4 separate regions of the Homo sapiens genome follow, and all the other regions are linked to region 1. The links are contacts of gene promoters, found by promoter capture Hi-C in blood cells and fetal thymus (Javierre and others, 2016). All regions are on one chromosome and are shown on one strand. The core of a region is centred on a gene start or on the middle of the fragment in contact, and the rest is flanking DNA. Distances in the headings are between cores, read along the strand shown.

What was found. Contacts are between HindIII fragments. The CHiCAGO score rates a contact against its expected background, and 5 or more counts as called.
Region 2: a contact is called between the fragment with the promoter of DRAXIN here and a fragment that was not itself captured in region 1, in 2 of 17 cell types (naive B cells and M0 macrophages). The highest score is 6.4, in naive B cells.
Region 3: a contact is called between the fragment with the promoter of MFN2 here and a fragment that was not itself captured in region 1, in 5 of 17 cell types (total B cells, naive B cells, naive CD4 T cells and 2 more). The highest score is 13.4, in total B cells.
Region 4: a contact is called between the fragment with the promoter of KIAA2013 here and a fragment that was not itself captured in region 1, in 4 of 17 cell types (naive B cells, total B cells, monocytes and 1 more). The highest score is 7.4, in naive B cells.

The regions. Positions count from the first base shown.
Region 1 is chr1:11,062,583-11,066,756 of GRCh38, reverse strand. It overlaps EXOSC10 (exosome component 10), which reads left to right. Exons shown (of 25, transcript NM_001001998.3): 25 at 9-139. The coding sequence ends at 39. Among named protein-coding and RNA genes, the nearest start is that of SRM, 4.7 kb to the right of the region's middle. RefSeq lists an enhancer at 3,302-3,381. The HindIII fragment of the contact is 2,936 bases long and covers 903-3,838 here.
Region 2 is chr1:11,690,162-11,694,369 of GRCh38, reverse strand. DRAXIN (dorsal inhibitory axon guidance protein) reads right to left here and starts at 2,660. Exons shown (of 7, transcript NM_198545.4): 1 at 2,517-2,660. It also overlaps a transcript of MAD2L2 not described here. RefSeq lists enhancers at 3,345-3,852, 3,853-4,208. The HindIII fragment of the contact is 12,625 bases long and covers 1-3,491 here.
Region 3 is chr1:11,978,909-11,982,905 of GRCh38, reverse strand. MFN2 (mitofusin 2) reads right to left here and starts at 2,462. Exons shown (of 19, transcript NM_014874.4): 1 at 2,422-2,462; 2 at 792-936. RefSeq lists an enhancer at 621-720 and silencers at 2,177-2,416, 2,587-2,846. The HindIII fragment of the contact is 7,841 bases long and covers 1,050-3,997 here.
Region 4 is chr1:11,923,442-11,927,746 of GRCh38, reverse strand. It overlaps KIAA2013, which reads left to right and starts at 1,320. Exons shown (of 3, transcript NM_138346.3): 1 at 1,320-2,542; 2 at 4,258-4,305. The coding sequence starts at 1,510. RefSeq lists enhancers at 1,101-1,395, 1,050-1,713, 1,714-2,376 and a silencer at 1,396-1,465. The HindIII fragment of the contact is 9,969 bases long and covers 1-4,305 here.

The DNA.
Region 1 (4,174 bases), core at 1,121-3,620:
CTCTGCAGAGGCTTCAGGTACAACTGGCCACAGAGATAGTCCTGGAAGACACGTGGCGCCTGTGGACCGGAAGCACCAAATGCTGGTGCTGCTTTTGTACATACATATTTTTAAACCATTAAAATTCTTCCTGAAGAAAGCTGATTCCTGACTTTTATTTTGTTGCCGCCACAGCTCTGGCAGGTTGCCATCCTGTTCAGGCAACCATCTTCAGCTGTCTGTGGGCAGGTGAGTGTGCTCCGGGGGTTATGGTGACTTCTAGAAAAATCCAGAGCCGGCCGGGTGCGGTGGCTCACGCCTGCAATCCCAGCACTTTGGGAGGCTGAGGCAGGCGGATCACGAGGTCAGGAGATCGAGACCATGCTGGCCAACACGGTGAAAGCCTTTCTCTACTAAAAATACAAAAAATTAGCCGGGCATGGTGGTGGACGCCTGTAATCCCAGCTACTCAGGAGGCTGAGGCAGGAGAATCGCTTGAACCTAGGAGGCGGAGGTTGCAGTGAGCCGAGATCACGCCACCTCATTTGAGCCTGGGCAGTAGAGCAAGACTCTGTCTCAAAAAAAAAGGCAAATGCAAAGAGAAAATTTTAATCATTTGTAGTCCTGTCACACAAAGATGCTTTTTTCCTTTTTTTGAGACAGGGTCTCACTCTGTTGCCCATTCTGGAGTGCAGTAGTGTGATCCTAGCTCACTGCAGCCTTGACCTCCCAGGCACATGCCACCACACCTGGGTAATTTTTCTTATGTTTTATAGAGATGGGGTCTTGCTGTGTTGCCCAGGCTGGTCTTGAACTCCTGGCCTCAAGCAATCCTCCTGTCTTGTCCTGCCAGTGTTGGGATTTCAGGCATGAGCCACCACACCCAGCTGAGATTAACATTTTGCTGTATTTCCTTATAAGCTTTCGCTATGTGTATATAGATATATTTTTAAAATATATCTTGGGTTCAGGTTTCTATCATTTGTCACCTTGAAAGTTTGTGTTATGACACTTTTCTCAATCTAAAATTTATTTTCGCCAACCCCCATTGTTAAACGCTTAGGTTTTCATTTTTGGTACTATTCTTAATAATGCAGCACTCACTAAACTTTTATATAAATTTGTGACCCAGTCTCTGATAATTTCTTTAGAACTTCATTTTATTTTAATCCTGAGATGGGCTAATAAATCAGGAAAGCACAAAATGCCATTACTTTGGTTTTTACAAATACTTAACCTAGAAACCTTTTTTCTTTGAAATTCATCCCACAAAGTATTGAGATTGCCAACTGTATATGATAACCTTTGGGGGGTACCAAGCCAAATCACACATCACTGCCGTCAGAGAGCTCCCACTCTTGAACAGCAGAGAACAGCCCTGTCCTAAGATAGGCTGGAGTTTGTTTTAGCTAGGACTAGACTGGTTGAAAATGACAGAAAAGCCAAACTATAGTGACTTTTAACAAGAGAGATGATTTTCCTCCTCTTTTGTAAACATAGTTGGCCCAGAGCTAGTGTGATGCTCATGATCATCAGACACAGGCTCCTATCTTGTTTTACCATCCTCAGCTCAAACACAAGGCTGCCGCCTCATGGTGCAGGGTGACTGCCCTTGCTCCAGCCATTACATTCTCATTCCAGTCTGCTGGAAGGAGGAAAGAACAGCACCCAATCTCTTTGAATAGGATACTGCCCATTTCAACTTCCCATTGGTCAGAACTTAGTCACAAGACCACAGCAAGGGGTACTAGGAAATATCATTATTTCAGTCATCCGTGTGTCCAACTAAAAGCCCAGGGTTCTACTATAGAATTTGGGAAGAACAGACATCGAAGGACAAAGAACAGTCACTGCCTAAAAATGGCAGTCTCTGCTATAAAAAATTGACAAGCGGAATTTTTTTTTTTTTTTTTTCCTGAGACGGAGTTTCGCTCTTGTTGCCCAGGCTGAAGTGCAATGGCACGGCACAATCTCGGCTCACTGCAACCTCCACCTCCTGGATTCAAGCAGTTGTCCTGCCTCAGCCTCCCAAGGAGTTGGGATTACAGGCGCCTGCCATCACGCCCGGCTTATTTTTGTATTTTTAAGTACAGACAAGGTTTCACCATGTTGGTCAGGCTGGTCTCGAACTCCTGACCTCAGGTGATCCACTCACCTCAGCCTCCCAAAGTGCTGGGATTACAGGCGTGAGCCACTGTGCCCGGCCTCACAGGTGGAATTTTTTTTTTTTTTTTTTTTTTGAGACAGTCTCGCTCTTGTCACCCAGGCTGGAGTGCAGTGGTACGATCTCAGCTCACTGCAACCTCTGCCTCTCGGGTTCAAGCAATTCTCCTGCCTCAGCCTCCCACGTAGCTGGGATTACAGGCGCCCACCACCACACCCAGCTAATTAGTGGAGACGGGGTTGTACCATGTTGGCCAGACTGGTCTTGAACTCCTGACCTCAAGTGATCCGCCCACCTCAGCCTTCCAAAGTGCTGGGATTGCAAGGCGTGAGCCACGACGCCTGGCCAAAGTGAGAAATTATTTTCTCCTGAGGATGGCCTGAGAGGCCTCGTGAAAGGCGCATTCGGACTGGACCCTGAGGAGCAAGGGACTTCCAGAGAGCTCTATGGCAGCGCAGCTCAAAGCGGAGGTCTCTGACAGCCCAGATGAGGACTTGTCAGAAAGAATCCAGTGCCACCTAGAGCCTGGAGGCTGCCAGGGCCGCTGTGCTCACCCGTTAAAGTGATGCCGCACCCTTTCTTTGGAAGTTTTCCATATTGGTTTTGTCTGTGTGACAATGTTTTTCTGTTTGTTTGTTTGTTGGTTTGTTTGTTTTTTGAGGCAGAGTCTCCCTCTGGCGTTCAGGCTGGAGTGCAATGGCATGATCTTCGCTCACTGCAATCTCCATCTCCTGGGTTCAAGAAATTCTCCTGCCTCAGCCTCCCAAGTAGCTGGGATTAGAGGTGCCCACCACCACGCCTGGCTAATTTTTGTACTTTTAGTAGAGATGGAGTTTCACCACGTTGGCCAGGCTGGTCCTGAACTCCTGACCTCAGGTAATCCACCCACCTTGGCCTCCCAAAGTGCTGGGATTACAGGCGTGAGCCACTGTGCCTGGCCTTCTGTTTGTTTTTTAAAAGACAGGAACCTTAGACAGGAGTTTGAGTTGTTTTCAAATATTCAATCTTGCAAAATAAAAAGTTCGCAACCCAGTGTCAGTCCCTAGATGGTGTCTGCAGAGGTTTACTGGTCCATCAAACCCCAAATCCAGAACTCCTCAGCCATGGGGTGGAGATGAGGGTCTTGGGTGTTCAAAGAACAACAGCTGGAGCTCAATGTCAGGTCACTTGGGGAGCACCTGGGACAGGACTAAGGAGGATGGTGAGCACATAGAGGGGTATGTGTGGGTCAGGAACTGTGCAGTGACTGAGTAGTGGAGGCCATGGCTGGGCCTGTGCTCCAAGAGGAAGGGAAAGGGATCTGGCAGGGCTGGCCAGGTTGGAGGTAGAGAGAGAATTTATGAGCAGAAGGACTGTGTGCTCAAGGAGGCATGCTGCTGTTTGCGGTGCCTTAGGCAGCTTGCCATAAGCATTTTCAACCAAGCCACACCACATAATGGCCAAAATTGTTCCCACTCATAACCACAGCTGTCTGCCTGGCTGAATGGAAGTGTAGAAAAATGACTCAAGTGCTAACTGCTTAACAAGCCTCTCGTGACAGACACATAACCACGTGGCAGCCCCATTTAAACCATTTCCTTGAACAGTAGCCATTGGCCCACCTTTCTCTCCTCTACCCTTTCTCCCCTTTTTCCTTTTATAATAACACTTTTTAGGAGGTTGGGTGGGATAGTTAACCCACTAGACACTTAAGCTTTACAACTGGGTTTTTGAGGTACATTGGTCTGAATTTAGGGGAAAACATTTCATGCTAAAGCCTGATTTTCTCAGTCCTGGTTGTTTGGTTGTTTTTTTGTTTTGTTTTGTTTTGTTTTTTGGTGTTGGGGGTGTTTTTTTTTGTTTTTTTTTTTTTCCTTTCTTGGAGACAGGGTCTCGCTCTGTCACCTAGGCTGGAGTGCAGTGGTGCGACTGTGGCTCACTGCAACCTCCGCCTCCTGGGTTGAAGCAATTCTCATGCCTCAGCCTCCCAAGTAGCTGGGATTACAGGTGCACGCCACAATGGCAGCTAGTTTTTGTATTTTTAGTAGAGAT
Region 2 (4,208 bases), core at 1,411-3,910, 630 kb before region 1:
CCAACCTCCCCAGCCAGAGGGCCAGCTCCGCCCTGGCCCCACCAGCAGGACCCAGCAGAACTCAGCAAGACACTGGGGCTTGCAGTTTTCAGTTCATTCCTGTGCCTTTGACCAGGAATCACATTCAATATAACAGGTGTGCACAGAGCCCCTACTGCGTGCCAGGCACTGGGACCACAAGCAGAAGGAGACCCAGCCCCCACCCAGGGAGGAGCAGACCCCTCCCAGATAGGGATTATGCCGTGCAGTTCACAAGAGCTAGGGAGGCAAGGGAGTGCCGGGGTGCTTCCCACAGGAGAGGACATCAGACCTCCTTGGTCAGCAAAGACAGAGGGCTGAGATCAAACACAGGGCAGGGCAGAAAGAGCCCTAGCAAAAGCTCAGAGGAGGGCAGACTGTGGAGATGGTCAGTTCTCCATCGTGGCTGCAACCTGGGACGCAGAGGGGACAATGCTGGGAGGCAGGCAGGACAGGGCTAGGCTGGGCTGAGGTCTCTGTAGTTAACTGAGTGGCCACAGTGAGCCACTGAGGACTATGGACTGGGAGGGCGATGAATTGAATAGTGGGGAGGAAGGCAGCGGAGAGAGCAGAGAGGACCTGAGCAAGGTTCCCAAGCCTCTGAGCTGGCTTTGCTGCAGAAGGCAGGGGGTAGAGATGGTATGAAGGGCCGGGTTCACCAAAGTAGGGCCTGTCTGCCAGGTCGGATTTCGAGCAGGAGCCTGGATGGGGGATGTCGTGGGGATATCCAGCCGTTCTTGCCTCTAAAGAGAAAGGTTCCAGTTGCCAGCCCTGGCTGTGGCTGAAATAAGAACTCAGCCAGGGGAGCCTGGAACCTGCCAGCTGGGAGGTTTCCCTCTTCTGAAGTTGCCCTCATTAAGACACTCAGGCCACGTCACTGCCAGACTCCTGGAGTGGTGTGTCACATGTTATGACCACCTAGACAGTGGTCAGGGGGCTTGGGCAAGCACACAGCAGGTCCAGGAGCCAGCAAGACAATCCCCTCAGAGGAAAGGAAGTGGCCTGTGAGCTGGTGCCGCTATTAAAGGCATCAAGCCAAGACTGAGGTTCAGAATTGGGGGTGAGTCACCGGACGCCTTCTGATGGGTGATCAGTTGTTGGCAACACCAGCTCAGCCACACTGATCTCATTTTGAAAAAAAGTGACCCATTGGCCCTGATTGTTTTAGCTGATTTTAGGACAAGCAAAGAGGAGGAGAGAGAGAAAGAGAAGAGTGCTTGCAAGGGTGTGGACGCCTGTATGGGCACGAGGAGGTGAAGGTGACAGGAAGTGTGATGGGGGAAGAGGCTGTGGTGGTGGGGTTACTCTGAAGTGTCTCTAAGCCTTGACTTTGAGATCCATTTCTGTGGAGCCCCCTGTCCCCACCCCATCCCAGGTCTGTAGACTCCCCTCCCCTCCCCTCCCTTCCTCCACAGGGTGTGTGAACCAGCACCAAGCGGCACCCCACAATTTCCACACACATCCCTATAGGTAGGGACTAGCACCATCCCTGTTTTGTGACAGGAACACTGAGGCTCAGAGAGGTGCATTCCTTTGTCCGAGATCACTCCCAGAGCCCCAGTGTACCCGACTCCAGATGCATAGTACTGAACCGGTTCCAGACACCAGTGTGTCACTGGGCTGGGAGGTGGGCAGCGTGGAGGGAGCATATAGGGCAGGGGAGACCACCGGGCGGAGAGGATGGCCCAGGGAGCACCCAGCTGAGGAAAGCAAGAAAGACTTGGCGGGAAACCCCAGCCCTCTCTCATCTCATACCCCGGCCCCGAAGGCGGCTGAGACCCTTGACGAGCGGACGGAGAAAAGCCAAAAGCCGGCGGTGGGGAGCAGGAGGGACAGAGCGGGAGACCACAGGCGAAAGACCAGCGCCGTCGGGGGAGCCAGGCTGAGTACCTTCCTGGGCACAGATGGGACGGCGCGGGGCCACCGGCGGTGCTGGTTCCGGGCGCACTCAGCGACCCCGGCCACACACCCCAGCCTCCTGGGCGGCCTCGAAAGGGGCTGGAGGGCACGCCCGCCAGCTCTGCCCGGGGCTCAGGGAGTCTTCGAAGACTTCTTCCAACGGTGGCGGACTGGGGCCCCCTGCCTGAGAGACCACCCGGAGACTCAGAGACAGAGAGACAAAGGGAGACTGGGTCAGGGAGAGAGAAGGCTAGTGCCGAGGAGAGTAGGTGCGAGCCGGGACCCCAGAGGGCGGCGAGGGCGCGCGCGAGGCCGAGTGTCAGAGCGTGGAAAAGTGGGCGTCCAGCGGTAGGTGGACGGATGGGGAGCCCGGGAGCAGAGCCAGGGTCCGTGGGCAGACGCGGCGAGGAGAGGAGGCGGCGGAAGGACTGGCGGATAGACGGGTCCGAGGGCTGGGAAGGAGGCAGCATCCTCACTTCCAGCCTCGGGACCCCGCGCACCCCGCCCCTGGGCGCGCCAGGTAGCCCACCTTTGTCCGGGCTCGCAGCCAGGTGGGGCGGGAGGGGCGGAGCCAGGGGCGGGCCGAGGCCGTGCCTTACCTGTCCGGCCGGCGGGTAGGGGGAGGAGGGGCTCGGGGCCGAGCGCCCGCGGGAGCCGAGCGCAGCCGAGGGCGAGCCGCGGAACGGGGCCGGCGTGGAGAGGTGCGCGGGCAGCCGGAGGATGTGCCCGGGCTGAGCGGGACTGGAAGGAAGGGGGAGTGGGCGGGCAGGAGGGAAGGGGGCGGGAGCGCGGGGAGGGGACAGAGGAGGGGCGGCGGGTGGCGGGCTCGACTGCCCCCAGCCGAGGGGCAGCCCCGGGGCCGGGCCCGGCGCGCACCCGGCCAGCGCGCCCTCGCCAGCTGCGCTCTGAGTTCTGGGCCAGCTCCCCAGAGGCCTAGGCGCCGCCGCCGCGAGGGCGCGGGGCAGACAAAGGAGGCAGACAAAGGCGGGCGCAGCCCAGCAGCCGTGCGGGCACCGGGCGAGGCAGGCCCACTCCTCCCGGTGCGTAAGAGCCGCCTCGGCGCGGCCCAGGGCGCGTGGGACGGGAGGGGCTCCGGCAGTTGTGGCGCCTCTGGAGCGGCCCCGCGCAGGGCGGGCGACAAAGGGCCGCGGCGGGCGGTCCTCGGTGGACCCCAACAATGGAGCGAGGCTGCGCGCTCAGCTGCGGCCGCGTCTGTCAGGGCAGGGGCCCGGGGCCACAAAAGGATTATTCCGCCTAGACTGTCAAAAGGGACGGAAGAAATGCCCAGGGCGGGGGAGGCGGGACGGGGAACGGCGGGGCCTTTGTAGCCGCAGAAAGTGCGCAGAGTGGGCAGGCGGGGTTCTCCGAGAGGTCGCTCCTGGATGTAGGGGTACAAAGGGTCTTCAAAGTGCTACCAGCTCACCTGGGGCGCTGACGGCGCACCTGTGCCCTCTTTCCCGGTAGGGAAGGGAGAAAGACAACCGCCCCAATACACACACACACAAACACACACACACACACACTCACACGCGGCGCGGCTCTCGCCACGCCCCGTCCAAAGCCGGCCTGAAGCTTCTCAGACCGGCCCAACCCGGACAAAGCCAGCGCTGGGGCCGGCTCATCCATCACCGCGCGGGGCGCCGTGTCCTGACGACCCTGGGAGTCTGAGAATGCTGGGTTATGGGTCCCGTGCCTCCCATAACTCACGACGGGGTCGGTGGGGCCACGGACGCTGCAAAGATCAAAGAGCGATGGGGCCGGACTCCCATATGTGGGAAGCAGCGCTCCCACCTGGCGCCCTGAGCTCGCCAGGTGGCTTCCATTTCGACTGTTTTCTTTCTCCAGCGTGTGGCAAATTATGACTTTGAGGTTTTAGAACACAGTTCTGCCGTCAGGCTAAATGTCTGTGTTCCTCTTCTGATGCCGTCCCCTATGACCTCGAGCAAGTCGCCTGACCTCTGAGCTCATGATTATACCTAAATTTCAGTGTTCTAGGCGTGAATGCAGTGCCCTGTGTAAGGAGATAACGTTTCTAAGGTCTGGCCCATAGGAAATGCTCCTGTAAAATTAGCTGCCATTGTTACCGTGATATTATTAGCTTGGTGGGCACCAGGATGGATTGATGAGAACACTGAACTGTTTATTCACTGAAAGGTTTGAGTCATCCATCCCATAAATACCTATTGAACACCTACTATGTGCCGGCACCGGAGGTACAGTAGTAAACAACATGGACAAGAATCCCTGCCCCCATGGAGCTCAGATTCTAGTGAAGGAGACAGAAGATAAGT
Region 3 (3,997 bases), core at 1,213-3,712, 920 kb before region 1:
TTCTGTGTAATAGCTTTTAAAATCCCGAGGATCACACTTTAGGGAAAAGCCCACTCTTTCTGGTACTCTCCTGCCCCTACCCCTAAAAAGTGCCAGGGCACAGTATTAATAAATATTAACCTAAGACCAGAAATGAACCCAGTTCTAAATGGAAACTGCTATTAGCCCTCCAAGGTGGTCAACAGCTTTGCCTCAACCTAGGCTATTCGTTGAGGAGTATTAGGTATCTTGGGTGTAGAGACAGCAGTAGCAAAATTCACTGCAAGGTGTGTTTGGATCCCAAGCACAGTCCCTGAATCCACACCACCTCCTTACCCAGTGTTATGTACAGCAACTCCTAGCAGGGAAAATAAAATGGATCCACGGATCGTCTGCTGGCACAACTGGAAAAGAGGAGAAGCTGAGAAATCGAAACAAAAAGAGTATACAGGGTAAAGGGGACAGAGCAGAGTCTTAAAAGAGCAGTGACAAGGAGCCAACCTGTGCTGGGCCGAGATGGGGAAGAGCCAGCACAGCAGAGACCAAATGAGGGAGACAGAGACTAACTCTTCAGGGAGCCCAAGAGATCCCAGCCACTTCTGAACTGTCAACTTTTAAACAGGCTCTCTAAGCAACCAGCGAAATCCTTCACGGAAGTAAAAGATACGGTAGTTTTTCAACACAAGTTAGAAAGCTGTGGCTCTATACAAAGAGGATGCCATTCAAGAGACTTGCCACCAGAGGTCCAGGAGAGCACACCCCTGTCCACTCAGCTCAAATCCAGGGTGCCAGAAGTCACAGCTACTACTTACTTTTTTGGATGGTGAGAGATCTTCACAGGGTAGGCATCATGGACATGGCTGAAGTCCAAAAGACAAAAAGATTCTGAGTTCTCTTCTGTCCTGTCTCAGGTTGAGGTTGGCTATTGATTGACTGTGTTGACTCCACCAGTCCTGACTTATTAGAAAAGAAAAGGGAGATGGATCCGGTGTCCAAAAAAAAAAAACACTGGTGTACAAAACATGTCTAATCAGGTTTCAAGCCAAACAAACTCATCCCTGAGGGAAGCTTACTCATTGAGGTATTGGGGAGTTGCGCTGGCATGTGAGGAAGTGCCCTGGGGAAAAAAACGCAGAGGTGTGGGACCAATCCTGACTGTGCACACGTATTCCGCCATGTGCGGGTTTGAGGCACCACGGAGGTCCCTGCAGGAGCCCTGGGAAAGGTACATCCAGAGAGGGGAGAAGAGGACAGAGCAAAACTAGGAACAAAACTGGGCTTGAGGACTGTGGAACAGCTGACTATTGAGGAACAGAAGAACTGACTGAAAGCCAATGTGTTCAGCTACTGTAAAGTATCTCACTTAATTCTCTATTCTGTGGGACAGAGGGCTGGAATACTTGAAGATTTGTCTAAGCTGGGATCTGAAATATTAGCTCCCTTTGACTCCAAAGCTCCTGGAGTGCAGCAGCGCGATCTCGGCTCAACCTCCGCCTCCCGGGTTCAAGCGATTCTCCTGCCTCAGCCTCCTGAGTAGATGGGATTACAGGCGTGTGCCAGCAAGCCCGGCTAGTTTTTGGTTTTAGCACAGACGGGGTTTCACCATGTTGGCCAGGCTGGTCTCCAACTCCTGACCTCAGGTGATCCGCCCGCCTCAGCCTCCCAAAGTGCTGGGATTACAGGTGTGATCCACTGCGACCGGCCTCCTTCCTTTTTTAACTACATTGAGCTGCCTTCCTCCCCCAAGCCCCAAACCTTGGGACACCAGAGGCGGATAACCAGAGCCCTTTTCTGGGTAGAAAAGAGATAACCAGAGCCCTTTTCTGGGTAGAAGAGAGAGAGATGATTGAGAATTTAAAGAGGGCAATGAAGGATTACGAGAGGGGGTAACGGGCAGTTCTGCCTTCGTGCGTCTTAACAGCTATTTATTCAACATTTTCTGTGTGCCTTCTCTGTGTGTGTCAGGCGCCACGTTAGAAATGGATAAGAAACAGTCCTGCCCTCCAGGGCCTTACAGTCCGGTGAGAAGTCATATAAGTAAACAGGGCTGAACGAGAAGGCAGTAACTGCCCAAAGTGGGGATGGCAGGGCGCTCCCGCGGTGAACGTGGACACCTATCAGGTGCTGAGTAAATGCTGGCAAAATGAAGACAGGATGAAAAATAGAGAAGGGGCAGGGGTAGAACATGGCCGTGAAGGGTGGAAAGGCGGGGGCGATGAGAAGCTACAGGGGACCCCACCGACCAGTCCCAGGTCCCGTGGCCCGCCCCCTCCTCTCAGGGCCGGGGAGGGCCCGGCGGCGAGGCCGGAGAGTGGGGACCCCGCTTGACTGCATCCCAGACCCCCGTGGCCCCAGAATCCCGTCGGCCCACGCCGAGCTGCTCAGGACTCGCCGGGCCGGGCCGGGCCAGTCCCCGCCACCCCGGCTTGCTCGCCCTCTCACCTTCACCTTCCCGGCCTCGCGGCGGCCATCACACTCACTACGTCACCAGCGAGCGCCACCCCAGGGGGAGGCGGGAGGAGGGAAGTGGATAAGCGCGTCACCAGTCGCCTCAGATTGCCCCTCGACCCGGGTGAGCTGGTGGACCCTGAGCCCAGCCGGCTCGCCCCGCCTACTCCTTACGCCTCTGCTGCCCCGCGACTCGGCGCTTCGAGCGGCGTCTCAGCGCGCCACTCCTCCGCGCGCCACTCCTCCGCCGGCGCGTCCCAAGCGGACGACGCAGAGGCTCGGACTCCCACTGCATCATGGGGGCTGTAGTTCCGGTGGGCGTCGGCCGGAGCTGGGGGGGCGGGGCAAAGCGGGGCGGAGCCTCAAGCTGTCAAGGGGCGAAAAACCAAGGGCGTGGAGTAGAGGTTCCCGCTTTTTCGCCGGTTGTCCTAGAGCCTGACCCTGGGGCCTCTGCCAGCTCTGGAATCCAGATTTGCATTCTGTAATCTTAGAGGAGTGTTCTCTAGAGGGCCAGGCCTAGGGTGAAGTGACTCATCGGGCAGACAGAAGCGAGCATGGGCCTGCTGCCCTTCAGTCGCCTTTGAGGAAAGAAGAGCAGCAACAACGGCGAATCAATGCCAGTGACTGAACTGCGTCTCTAACATCCACCGCTGTATTTAACGTCCACAGCAGTCCCAGGAGAGGGAGAGGAGAGGTTACCCAAGCTCACATGGTTACCCAGATCACCGGGCCCCAGTGATGCGGCAGACACTACTAGGAAACCGCAGCAAACAGATCCCTTGCAGGACTTGGCCTCCGCAGAGAAGGCTCCAAGCCTGAGCGCGCCAGAACAGTAGGCACTAGCCACGTGTGGCTCTCGAGTCCTGAGCCAGTGCAAACGGAGATGCGCTATAAGACTTAGGACAAAAAAGGCTGTTAAACTATCTCAATTTTTAGGAAAAAAAAATATCGACCGGGCGCGGTGGCTCAAGCCTGTAATTCCAGCATTTTAGGAGGGCGAGGCGGGTGCATCGGGAGTTCAAGACCAGCCTGGCCAACATGGTGAAACCCCGTCTGTACTAAAAATACAAAAATTAGCCAGGCATGATAGTGCACTCGGGAGGAAGAGGCAGGAGAATCGCTTGAACACGGGCGGTGGAGGTTGCAGTGAGCCGAGATCATGCCACTGCACTCCAGCCTGGGCAACAGAGACTCCGTCTCAAAAAAGAAAAAAAAAATCTATCTTTGAGCCAGAGTCTCACTCTCACTCAAGCTGGAGTGCAGTGGTGCAATCACGGCTCACTGCAGCCTCGAACTCCTGGGCTCAAGTAATCCTCCCACCTCACTCAGCCTCCCAAGTAGCTGACCACAGATGCTGCAGCCATGCCTAGTATTTATCTTTTGTAGACATGGGGAAGCATTTCACTTTGTTACCCAGGCTGGTGTCCTGAACTCCTGGACTCCTGGAGTCAAGCAATCTTCTCCTGCCTCGGCTTCCCAAAATGCCGGGTTACAGGTACCTGCCACAGTGCAGGGCTATTAGCCCATTACTATTTATATGCTGACTACATGTTGAAGTGATAATATTTTG
Region 4 (4,305 bases), core at 71-2,570, 860 kb before region 1:
TTCTCGTGCCTCAGTCTCTCAAGTAGCTGGGATTACAGGCGCCCACCACCACGCCCAGCTAATTTTTGCATTTTTATTTTTTTATTTTTATTTATTTATTTTTTTTTTTTTGAGACAGAGTCTCCCTCTGTCACCCAGGCTGGAGTGCAGTGGCGCGATCTTGGCTCACTGCAAGCACCGCCTCCCGGGTTCACGCCATTCTCCTGCCTCAGCCTCCCGAGTAGCTGGGACTACAGGCGCCTGCCACCACGCCTGGCTAATTTTTTATATTTTTAGTAGAGACAGGGTTTCACCGTGTTAGCCAGGATGGTCTCGATCTCCTGATCTCGTGATCTGGCGGCCTCGGCCTCCCAAAATGCTGGGATTACAGGCGTGAGCCACCGTGCCCAGCCTAATTTTTGTATTTTTAGTAGAGACAGGTTTTCACCATGTTGGTCAGGCTGGTTTCGAACTCCTGACCTCAAGTGATTTGCCCATCTCAGCCTCCTAAAGTGCTGGAATTACAGACGTGAGCCACCACTCCTGGCCTCTGGTGGTTCCCCTTCCCCTCCTCCTCCCTTTTCCTTTCTTCTTCTTTCTTCCTCTTCTTCTCTCTCCTTTTTTTTTCCTCCACTTTTTCGTATTGTTCCAAGTGTTTTTTTGCAGTGAGGATAGTCTTTTTTTTTTTTTTTTTTTTTGAGACAGAGTCTCACTCTGTCGCCCAGGCTGGAGTGCAGTGGCGTGATCTCGGCTCACTGCAAGCCTGCAACCTCCGCCTCACGGGTTCAAGCAGTTCTCCTACCTCAGCCTCCTGAGGAGCAGGGATTACAGGCATGCGCCACCACGCCCGGCTAGTTTTTGTATTTTTAGTAGAGATGGGGTTTCACCATGTTGGTCAGGCTGGTCTCAAACTGCTGACCTCGTGATCCGCCCGCCTTGGCCTCCCAAAGTGCTGGGATTACAGGCGTGAGCCACCGCGCGCGGCGAGAGGATGGTCATTTTTACAGAAACAAAGTTGTTGTGTGTGTGTGTGTGTATGTTTTTAAATTTTGGGGCTGTTGAATCCATCAGTAGCAAAGGGGCCCAACACGTGTTCGGTTTGGCTGGCTCGATGTTTTTTTCACGAGTGAATTGGATGCTTCCAGTCCTCCCCAGACCCCTGCACTTAACTCCACTGGACTTCACTCTTCCGGCCTGGGAACGAGTGGTCCCGCCCCCGGCAGCTTTTGTCCCGCCCTCGCCGTGGCTCCGCCCCCTTCTCTCCGGCCTGCTCTCTCTCCTCCCTCCGCCCTCCCGTTTTCCATCTGTCGTAAAAGACACGGCGACGCTTGACCGCCGGCGTCGTTTGACGGCTGGAGGCCACCGAGAAGAAGGAGGAAGCAGGGGTGGCGGCTGCTGCGGCGGTTGCGGCGGGGGCCGGGGTGGGCGCCGCGGTCCGGGCCGGGCAGTGAGGCGCGGGCGGCCGGGCCGGTGGGCTGGGCGGCGGGCCCGGCGGCCGCCCTCGCACCCTTGCCCGCGCCTGGCGGCCCGATGTGGCTGCAGCAGCGGCTCAAGGGGCTGCCGGGACTGCTGTCGAGCAGCTGGGCCCGCCGCCTCCTCTGCCTGCTTGGCCTCCTGCTGCTGCTTCTGTGGTTTGGGGGGTCCGGCGCGCGGCGGGCGGCGGGCGGCCTGCACCTGCTGCCCTGGTCCCGCGGTGAGCCGGGCGCCGCCGAGCCGTCTGCCTGCCTGGAGGCGGCCACCCGCGCCTGGCGCGGCCTGCGGGAGCGCGGTGAGGTGGTACCGCTGGGTCCTGGAGTGCCGGCCCTGGTGGCCAACGGCTTCCTGGCCCTGGACGTGGCTGCCAATCGGCTGTGGGTGACTCCCGGGGAGCGGGAGCCCGCCGTGGCGCCGGACTTTGTGCCCTTCGTGCAGCTGCGCCCGCTGAGCGCGCTGGCTGAAGCTGGAGAGGCGGTGCTGCTGCTGCGGGAGGGGCTTCTGCGCCGCGTGCGTTGCCTGCAGCTGGGGTCCCCAGGTCCTGGCCCCGTGGCCGCCGGCCCCGGGCCCGCCTCCGTCTCTGGCCTTGCCGCGGGGTCCGGCCGCGACTGCGTGCTGCTGCAAGAGGACTTTCTGGCGCACAGGGGCCGACCCCACGTCTACCTGCAGCGCATCCAGCTCAACAACCCCACGGAGCGCGTGGCCGCGCTGCAGACTGTGGGGCCCACTGCCGGCCCAGCCCCCAAGGCCTTCACCAGTACCCTGGAGAAGGTCGGAGACCATCAGTTCCTCCTCTACTCAGGCCGGTCCCCGCCTACGCCCACTGGGTTGGTGCACCTGGTGGTGGTGGCCGCCAAGAAGCTGGTGAACCGCCTCCAAGTGGCTCCCAAGACGCAGCTGGATGAGACGGTGCTGTGGGTGGTGCACGTCTCTGGCCCCATTAACCCCCAGGTGCTCAAAAGCAAAGCAGCCAAGGAGCTCAAGGCGCTGCAGGACTTGGCACGGAAGGAAATGCTGGAGCTCTTGGACATGCCAGCGGCGGAGCTGCTTCAAGACCACCAGCTCCTCTGGGCTCAGCTCTTCAGCCCAGGTGAGTCCTGGCCAGCGCTTGGTCCACCCTAGATATGTCCCTCCCAAGTCTGCAGAGGTGACACTGAAGGTGATGGTGGGGTGGTTGAAACTTGGGCTTGGCGTTTCACCAGTGGTTGAATCTGCTCAACTGCTTAGTGTCTGTGCGACCTTTGGATTCGTCGCCTAATCTCTCTGGGCCTGTATTTAATAACAATAACGCCTACCTCAGAAGGTTTTTATGAGACTGTAGTGGACAATTGAGTGTAAAGGTCAATTCTTTCTGTTACTTGTTTTGGTAGATGGGGCCTGATGTGAGCAGAGTGAAGTGTTTTAGAGTCAGTTTGCAGAGGTGAAACCAGCAGGTGGATCCCCTGATTCTTTGCTCAGCACCGCAGTCGGCCTGGTGACAGACGTGGGCTTCTTGACATAACCCCTGCTAGGCTGAGGTGCGTCCTGGCAGTTGTGGCTGCAACTGGTTCACAGGGAGGTTGGAGAATCCCTTTTAGCAGGTTGAGATGCTCCCGCCCGATGAAAACTCTCCTCTCGTTGACTGTTAAAGAAAAGAAAATCCTGTTCTGGATGAGAGAGGGGTTTTGGTTTCCAGGGTTCCAATTGTCTGAACCTTTGTGTTTGGTTGCTCAGAGAGTTGAGTTCATTCAGCAAGTATCTATTGAATGCTTCTGCCAGGGCTGTTCTATGCATGGGGGGGTGCAGATGGGAACCAGAGTTCCTGTTCTCATGGTGCTTGCTTAAATTCTGGTTGGGAGGAAGACAGACATTAGAAAAGTGAAAATTAAAATTAAAATAAGGCATCTTTTTAGGCTAGAATGTGCTGGCTGGGCGCGGTGGCTCACGCTGTAATCCCAGCACTTTGGGAGGCTGAGGCAGGTGGATCACCTGAGGTCAGGAGTTCAAGCCAACCTGGCCAACGTGGCGAAACCTTGTCTCTACTAAAAATACAAAACTTAACCTGACCTCATGATCCGTCCACCTTGGCCTCCCAAAGTGCTGGGATTACAGGCGTGAGCCACCGCGCCCGGCGAGAGGATGGTCATCTTCACAGAAACAAAGTTGTGTGTGTGTATGTTTTTAAATCTTAGGGCTGTTGAATCCATCAGTAGCAAAGGGGCCCAGCACGTGTTTATTCAGCAAGTGTCTATTGAATGCTTCTGCCAGGGCTGTTTTAGGCATGGGTGGTGGCCTGCACCTGTAGTCCCAGCTACTCAAAGGCTGAGACGGGAGAATCACTTGAACCCGGGAGGCGGAGGCTGTAGTAACCTGAGATCGTTCCACTGCACTCAAGCCTGGGCAACACAGTGAGACTCTGTCTCAATAAACAAATAAATACATACATACATAAAGCTACAAGACTGGAGAGAGAAAGGACAGAGAGGAGAAGTGGCCTGAGACTGGCCTCAGCACTGGTGACTGATCTGGCGCAGGATGTCTGACCATAGGGTTGGTGCCAAGTCCTGGCTAAGTCTGTGTTCCTCTGGGCTCTGGCACCAGGCCCCGCTGCTTTTTAACAGGATTCTAGATTTCAGGCCCACAGGCTCAAGTTGGTCGTGTAAACAAGACAGGCTGACTTTCTTCTATACTTTAGGGAGATGGGCACCACTGTCTTTATCATTAAGGCACAACACCTCACTCTTCTGCTGCCCTTGGTCTTTATTTCGTATGCTCTGCCTCCCAGCTGTCCTTCCCCCTTAACATGCCGCTTTCATGGTGTTGCAGGAGTGGAAATGAAGAAGATCACTGACACCCACACGCCGTCTGGCCTCA